Linked DNA regions of Homo sapiens: regions 2 and 3 are each linked to region 1. Evidence: promoter capture Hi-C in 16 types of primary human blood cells and fetal thymus (Javierre and others, 2016). All regions are on one chromosome and are shown on one strand. Each heading gives the region's core, a stretch centred on a gene start or on the middle of the fragment in contact. The rest is flanking DNA. Distances are from core to core; before and after follow the strand shown.

The links. The method cuts DNA at HindIII sites, captures the fragments that hold promoters and counts their contacts. A CHiCAGO score of 5 or more calls a contact.
Region 2: a contact is called between the fragment with the promoter of MRPS28 here and the fragment with the promoter of PEX2 in region 1, in 8 of 17 cell types (total CD8 T cells, non-activated CD4 T cells, naive CD8 T cells and 5 more). The highest score is 13.3, in total CD8 T cells.
Region 3: a contact is called between a fragment that was not itself captured here and the fragment with the promoter of PEX2 in region 1, in 3 of 17 cell types (total B cells, non-activated CD4 T cells and naive B cells). The highest score is 10.6, in total B cells.

What each region holds. Positions count from the first base shown.
Region 1 is chr8:76,998,756-77,001,455 of GRCh38, forward strand. PEX2 (peroxisomal biogenesis factor 2) reads right to left here and starts at 1,323. Exons shown (of 4, transcript NM_000318.3): 1 at 1,235-1,323. RefSeq lists an enhancer at 1,318-1,612. The HindIII fragment of the contact is 1,935 bases long and covers 1,294-2,700 here.
Region 2 is chr8:80,028,875-80,031,574 of GRCh38, forward strand. It overlaps MRPS28 (mitochondrial ribosomal protein S28), which reads right to left and starts at 1,385. Exons shown (of 3, transcript NM_014018.3): 1 at 1,162-1,385. The coding sequence starts at 1,374. All of the region lies in intron 5 of TPD52-MRPS28 (TPD52-MRPS28 readthrough), which reads right to left. It also overlaps a transcript of TPD52 not described here. RefSeq lists an enhancer at 1,108-1,537. The HindIII fragment of the contact is 3,845 bases long and covers 1-2,388 here.
Region 3 is chr8:81,717,862-81,720,647 of GRCh38, forward strand. ZFAND1 (zinc finger AN1-type containing 1) reads right to left here. Exons shown (of 8, transcript NM_024699.3): 2 at 321-363. Among named protein-coding and RNA genes, the nearest start is that of ZFAND1, 2.0 kb to the right of the region's middle. RefSeq lists an enhancer at 2,473-2,786. The HindIII fragment of the contact is 1,170 bases long and covers 879-2,048 here.

The DNA.
Region 1 (2,700 bases), core at 73-2,572:
TTCTACACAAGTTCTCCTATGGAACAGTTTTAAAACCCCAGCTTGAGTACTAACACTAGTTTCTAAAAATAAGGAGAATACGGCCAAGAGGTAAAATTGTACAAAGGCAACTAGAGTCAGGACTAGAATCCAACTGTCTTGATTTAGTCTAATACTCTTCAGTCTACTAGTCTAGTATTCGCTCTATGTCCTGTTACTTCTATTTTTTTTTTTAAGAAAAAAATATGAAGGGTTTTTTTTTTTGACTCTGTAAATAATTCTTTCAAATCTCTTTCTGGCTCAAGATCACTCAACTGTAATCTTTCTGGAAACAAGTAATTGATAATATAGGTGAGATCAGATAAGTTAAAAGAGCCACCCCAAGTTCATTCTGTTCAGGATTAAGTAAAGGTAACACTTTAGGGGAAGGTGTTTAGACTACAAGCTGCGGTGTTGTGAGCGCCCAAGTATCATTTAATTGTCCGAAACGTCAAGATAAAATATTTCCGAGGGGCATCACGGAAGTTTAACAGAATGTGTTAGACTTGAACGTTCAACAGCTTGCTCATTTTGCCAAAAGCCCTTTCACTAAATGTGGGAAATTTGGAAAATGGTACCTCAATAAATAAACAAACAACGATTTTTAATTTAAGAACCCAGGAAAAAATGTTAACAATTCTCACATTCAGATTTCTTATCAAAAGTCAACGTGAAATATAACTAATTTATCGCAAGCAATTTTATCAGAAACTTTTCATTATCTCTTCCTCCATAAGAAAACCAAACTGCATTTACGTGCGCTTTCAACAGTGTTAGAAAACTAAGCACTCAAATTTTTTGTACTACATATAACACTTTACATGAACTTTCAGATATTAAGTAAAGTTTGGATCCTCAATTCTTTATAAAGCCGTTTATAAGAGGTAAATATCTTCACGACCGCCAAATGAGAGAAAAAGATTTCGAAGTTCGTCTCTTAAGTTACTACGTGGAATGCAGAGGGGCTCAACTGCAGCTGTGTGTGTGTTTATTTTTAATGCCGCGATCCTAAAAACATCTTTAGGAGTTTAGGTTTGCTTCACTGCCTTTCCCAAAATTCAGCAGCTTTGATTTGCCTTTTCCAGGGAGACAGGAAGCCAATAAACAGGGAAAAAAAAGCAAACGGCGACAATTACAAGGTCGTGAAACTCCACGACCTCCCAGCTGAAAACAAGACCTCGGGTTTGCACTCCGGCTCTCTAGGGCAGACACTGACCTTAGGAGTCTGCGAAACGCCCACGCTCCACGTAACTTTCTCTGAAACATTCTCTGGAAAGCTTGTCTTTTCCTAGCCGAATCTGGATTACCAAGGCTTCCGGAACTCGCAGGCTTCCGGAGCGACGCAGGAGCCGGAAGTGGCTGAAAAAAAAAAGAAAAAGTTACACCAACGAGAACTGCGCTTTAGCGGCGCTGCTGAAGGCACTGGATGGCCAAACAACCGCGAACGCCGACAAGCCGAAGAGCCGAAGGGCCGAAAAGCCGAAGCGGACACCCGCGCGCGGTGATTGGCCGGTTGGCCGGAAGAACTCTGTCTCTGATTGGCAGGAGAGTCACGAACCGGTCAGCCCCGGGTCAGGGGCCGCAAGTGAGGACACTACAAGTGTCGAGGGGCCTAGGGGAAGCCGGGGCTTGGGAGGGCAGGGCTTTCTCTGCTTGCGGACATCGCGAAGGGCCTCTGGCAGGCGCCGCCGGGTGGCGGCGAGACGCCTCCGCGCCTCCGGGGTTCCTTGTTCGCTGTCGGAGGAGGACCGGCTGAGGGATGGCCTGGTGGGGAGGGAGCCCTCGGGCAGGTGGCTGCGTCGGGCCTGGGGCAGTTGTGCTGCGCTTGGAGACCTGCCCGCCCTCGGGGCCTGTGTGCACAGGGAGGATAGGCTGTTTATCTCTGCAGGCTCAGGAAGGCAGGTAGCTGGCCCGTCAGTCATCCGCCCTGCAAAGCGCTCCCGAGAGACCCCGTAGAGCGGGCCAGCGCGCGCCTGGCCTGAGGTTTCCCGCCCCCGGAGGCCCTCACATCTCCCCGGTAACGCTTAGGAATTCGGGCAGCCAGCTCGCCTACCCCTGGGGAATCGAGGCAGAGCTTCTGGGAATGGGGTCTGAGGGAAGAGTGCTCACCAGGCAGTGACATGTAGCCGTTGAGGATCGCCACTGCCTTCTCGTTCTGTGGTATGAATGGCAGTGTCTCTCTAGAGAGTTAGTGCTTAAGTTTGAATGATGGCAGGCACTTCAGGATTCCAGCACGTAGTAGGGTTTAAGAACGTCTTAGTTCTTACCTCCAGTCTCGACTCACCGTTCCTACAAGGAACACTCACTTCTACGAAAGCTCTATTAGACATTCGAGGGAGAGCTTATACTGTAGAACCAGTGTTATTAGGAAAGTTTTTTTTTTTTTGCTTGTATTTTTATTTCAGAAACTACCCATGGAGCAGAGTTGCTAAAATAAAATTTATTAACTCTAATGCTATCCAAATTGTGAAACAATGGTACAAATGAGATAGAGTAGAAGCTACAAATTGATAGAGTATGTAGTTCACTTAGGGGTTTGGGAGTGGATTTTCTAGAGCTGCAACTGTCCAGTGTAGTAGTCACTGGCCACCTGAAAAGTGGCTAGTCTGAACTGAGGTCTGCTCTAAGTGTAGAACATGCACCAGATTTCTAAAGCGTGGTCTGAAAAGAAAAAGAATGTAA
Region 2 (2,700 bases), core at 135-2,634, 3.0 Mb after region 1:
CACTTGAGCCCAGGGGGTTTAGCAGTGAACTGAGATCATGCCACCACACTCCAGCGTGGGTGACAGAGCGAGACCCTGTCTCAAAAAACAACAAAACAAACAAAAAAATCCAAAAAACAAAAAAGTAGAAAACAGAGGCAGAAAAGACAGGCCAGGAAGAGATTCTCCTAGAAGCTACGGAAAAGAACACAACTTCACCAACACCTTGATTTTAGACCAGTGAGATCCCGTCTGACTTCTCACAACCCTAACAACAACACATTTCCTGTGTTTTACGCCACTAAATTTGTAGTAATTTGTTACAACAGAAAATAATAAACTAATATACCAGGCTTCTTCTAGTCCTTGGATTTCAGAAAAATTTTGACATCAGTAATTGCTACTAAAATGACCCTATAACCCAGGACACTGCCAGTCTTGTGAACTGTTTGGTACTACTCCCTAGGAAGAAAAATACAGAAATTGAGAGTTTATTTGTATATAATTCAATTTCATGTCTGCTGAGTTTAATTATTAAAAACTTAGGCTTGTAATTTTATTTCTTCCATTTCATTTATCTATAAATTTATGGTATTTTACAAAAGTACTGGCTGAGACAAACGGAGATTTTACTTTACTTTTTAAAAAAAGAAGACATTTACAAAAGAGAGGTGAAGCGCTGACAAGTTAAATCACTTGCCCAAGTTCAGAAAGTGATTCATCACCCAGTCATTAAATTAACAAATGTTTATGAAGGGCCTTCTACTCCAGACAGCAAGCTCCATGCTAGAGCTACTGTTCAGAACAAGACCCAGCAGAGCCCTGCCTCTCCGTGTGAGTCCCATTCTCCTTAGCGTCCCAGGAATCGCCCTAGATCGCCTCCCCAGCAGCGCTCCCCGCTGGTTACCTTCCCACCAGCATTCAATCCCAGGAAAACAAGCGCAGTGTGGACAGACCCGGCCCAGTACGCAAATGCCACACAAAAGGACAACGAAAGGAAGAAAAACACCAAGCACAGATTCTAGGGGCCGAGGGCTGAGCCACAACGCACCGCAACTCCGGAAAACTGGGCCCCGGACCTCAGCTCCCCTTCCTAAGCCAGGCTCCGCCCCTATTCCCGACCCCGCCCACCGCGTCGTTGGCGTAATTCCCGCGACTCCCTCTCACCCGCCCGGGCTCCACCTTCTGTAGGGGCTCCACCTTCTGTAGAAGCTCCGAGTGCCGCTCCAACGCGCTCGCGAAACCGCCTGCGCGCGTCTTAGGCTCCTTGGCATTGGAACTACCACTTTCGGATCCACTCTCAGTGCCTACACCCCGAAAGGGCCTGAAGAAGAGAAACACTCGCAGAAAATGGCTCTCGGCAGCCACAGCACGGGTCCGACACAGCGCCGCCATGACTTCTTTACCTCTGACCTTTGACCTCCCCTCCGCAAGCGCGCGGGTCACGGGGCGGAGCTATGAGAGGTCCGCCCCCCGGACGCAGAGCTCTGGAGGCCAACGAGGCGTGTCTTCCTTTCATCTGGGAGTGGCGTGGGGAAGAAGAGACTTAAGCTAAAATTGGTGGGCTAAATAGTTGGAAAGGGGCCTGGTTAAGTTTTGCGTTAGAAGTGCGTTTAACTTGCAGGAATTTCGCCTTCCTGGGCATCCGTTGGACCCCATTGTACTGTAAATTCTGCTAACGCGACGCTCGTTCTCCCGCCCTGCCGTCCCCCCTACATGGCCGCCAGCACTCGAGTTTGGGGTCTTCACTCAAATATGAGGGTCTCCTTGATTACCCTATTTAGAAGTGGAAGCCCAAATGCAGACTCTCTGGCACCTGTTTTTCTTAGTACCATGTAGCACTTTCTAATATGCCACATATTAATATTAAATATTTAATAATATTTAGTGTCTACTCCCAACTTTTTAAACTTTGAAAAGAGGAACTTTGCTGTAGGGTCCCTAGCACCAGGCACAGATTAGGGCTCACCCAACATTTGCCAAACCCTGCATCCAAGTTTGTCCTTTGCCACTTCTGCAGCCAGTCCACTCACGCCACAAAAATAGTTTTTCTGAAATGTTTTGACACCTCTAGATACCTATTATCTAACTTAGGAGTTCAGAAGTTTTGGAATGTCCCTAAGTATTGCACCGCCGTAGGCCCCCACCCTCACTCTGGATTTTCTTTCCCTTTTCTCCTGCAGTGTTAATTCCCAAAATTTACCCACCCTGTTCAAAACAGCCTAACATCATTCTTAAGTGTTTATTAATTAGTTGTCCGTCTATCTTTGACCCAGCAGTTTAATATTAATCCACAGTTAGTTTTATTTTGGGGGCACACACCTTTCCAGTTCATTTGCAAGTACTTCGAGAGAAAGAATTTTTATGATCACAGACCCTATTTTAAGAATGCCTTGACTATGGGTTTTAAGCTTTTCTGATGCTCTCTAATGGTACAGATAGTGTTAAGAACACGAAGTACACTGATCTCAGAATGGTGCACAATTGTATGAATCACATAAAATTATTACTAGCTAACTGTATGGTAGTCCTTACAAATTCATTAAATTCTCCAGGTGAGTTCTCCCTCTTGGCAGTTAAAACTGTTTATCTCCCGAGACTATTAATGGACTCTTGCCTAGAACATTATTTTCTACGGATAGTGCTACTTCCACTTTTTTTCAGGAGAAAGTGTGGTAAATTGTAAAGAGCATGGCCAGTGGTCTTCAAGAACCCTCAGTC
Region 3 (2,786 bases), core at 214-2,713, 4.7 Mb after region 1:
TCATTTTATTAATTAAAATAAAGAGCAATAATTATAACTGGATCTTTACCATATTCTTTATATTGTGAATATTATTTTCTCCTTGTAATTAAAAGACAAAAATATAACTTTTATATAAAATTCACATACATAACCCCACTTTTGGAAGTTTAAAAATCAGTCATATATATGGAGAAGTAATCAGAGTCTATAACTATACTGAATATCAATAATCAATGGCTAAAGTAACAATTATTTTAAATCATTCTACTTTTCAGAAATAACCTCATATTAATAAACACTAAAATTACTCCCAAATCCTGCATAAAAACTTAACTTACCAAAATATTCCTGAACAATCATCACACACAAATGGAAGAAAATCTAAAATTGAGAGAAAATGTATATACTGGTCAGTATCTGATTTTGATTTAGTTTTCTTAAGCAAGAAGACAACCTCTATGGAAAAACTTCCCATTTTGACTAATATCCTAGTGTAGCAAGCACTATGTAACCACTCTAACAAAATTAATCACAACTTCAATAACTGACAGAAAGTAATTGGATTAACATAAGGTATTAATAGATGTTACTTGTAACTTTACTAAGTCAGACAAAAATAAGTTCTAGTGGTTTTCTTTTTCTTTTTTGTTTTGTTTCCCAGATTTACTAGGTGTTGTTTTTGATGACTGTATACTGCAAAAATTCCGCATTTGGAGTGAAAAACCTGGGATTCAATTCTGATTCCACTGCTTACTAATCTAACAGTGCTAGGCAAGTTACTTAACAGTAAAACTTTGGATATATATATTTTTATATATATCCAATAAATATATATATTTATATCTGTGTACTAATATATATGTGTGTGAACAACATATATATATATATATCGCCAAAGCTTGACTATATTCAAATATATTTATATTTATATATACACCTATAAGATTTATGGTATTTCAAATATATATAATTTGATGTAATATATAGTACAGTTAGTATAAAGTATATGTGTGTGTGTTTCTATATATGTATGTAAATAAACATATACAAAACCAAAGCTCTTTTATTGGGTAAGAAAAATAGAAAGATATAGACAGGTAGATACAGAGACAGATATAAAGATACAAGCACATCCTTTCTGTGTATATATGTATATGTGTGTATGCATGTGTATCTATATCTGTATCTATGCTGTATGCCACACCGACCTCACAGTGTACTTACAGAAACCAAATGAGATATATATGAAAGATCAGAATAGTAATACAGTAACTATAATTAATAAGAATAATACAACAATTAACTTCTTTTGAGTATACTCAACTCAGAACAGTACTGCAAGGGGCCAGGCACAGTGGCTTAAGCCTGTAATCCCAGCACTTTGGGAGGCCGAGGGGGGCGGATCACCTGAGGTCAAGAGTTTGAAAACAGCCTGGCCAACATGGCGAAACCCCATCTCTACTGAAAACACACACACACACACACACACACACACACACACACACACACACAAATTAGCTGGGCGTGGTGGTTCATGCCTGTAATTCCAGCTACTCAAGAGGCTGAGGCAGGAGAATCGCTTGAATTCAGGAGGCAGAGGTTGCAGAGGGCCGAGATCGCGCCACTGCACTCCATCCTGGGTGACAGAGCCAGACTCCATCTCAAAACAAAACAAACAAACAAACAAAAAAGGACAATACTGCAGTGACTGGGTGGAGATGCTTAATATTTTGCGACTTTTAATAATCAAGTATTAGATGCAAACCAGAAGGACCCAGGGGAAAGAGTTAAGTCAAGACAACTTCCCAGCACCTGATACCATCCTTCAATCCCTCCAGAAGGTAGATAAAATTTAGGATATACACTTGACGTAGTCTAAATCTTAACTGCTTTCCACTAGTCCCAAACAGATAGGCCTGGCCTCATCTCAGTTATTGACACTAAAGACATATATAGCTGGAAAGGAAAATGAACTATGTCATGAATGGCATATAATGTGTATTGGACTCACTAGCGAAGGATCAGGCATAGACACACATAATTCACAGTCAAAACCCAAATGGCTAAGCTTCCACATGAAAAAAGTCACACTGGCTTGTTATTACAGCCAGTGGTGAAAGATAGATAGATAGATGGCTATAAGTAACAAGAACCTAGAAGGGATTGTGTCACCTGTCCTATCACGCATTCCCACAGTAGAAATCACTAATCAATTATGGAACTCCACTGAAACTGGGCTAAATCTCAAGAGTCTTTGACACGGTAATTCAGGCACTTGATACCAATGACTGAAGTTCCAAGGGGAGATTAAACCTGTTTGCTACCTTATGTAGTGTGTGAAACCTAGTAACAACGACTGAGCAGTCTGTGTGGTTCTAATGCTTCAAAAACTTGCCTTTTCAAGGTGTATGGCATCCTGAAGCCAATGCCACATCACCTTGGACTAGGTATATCCCAAGGTCTCTCAGTGCAATGGGGAGAGCCCATTGCCATATTATTAACTAATTCTCTCTAAAATGCAGCTTACTAGTTGGAAAGGTCTTCCGTGTAAAAGACTGTAGTTTACACCCTTATGTGGTCCAAGCACCAAAATCAATAATCTGTAAATGTTTGTTCAAACAATAATAATGAGAATCAGGGAATGACAGAGCTGGGAGAGCATGATGACCATTTGGTGGAATAATCTGAGGATCAGGATGCCTTTGAGAATTTGATAAAAGCTAAGGAAGGGCCTTCTTCCGGACACACATCCACGTGAACACTAGTTGGGCGAGTTGACCTCCCCCAACTCCTCCTGACAGCTA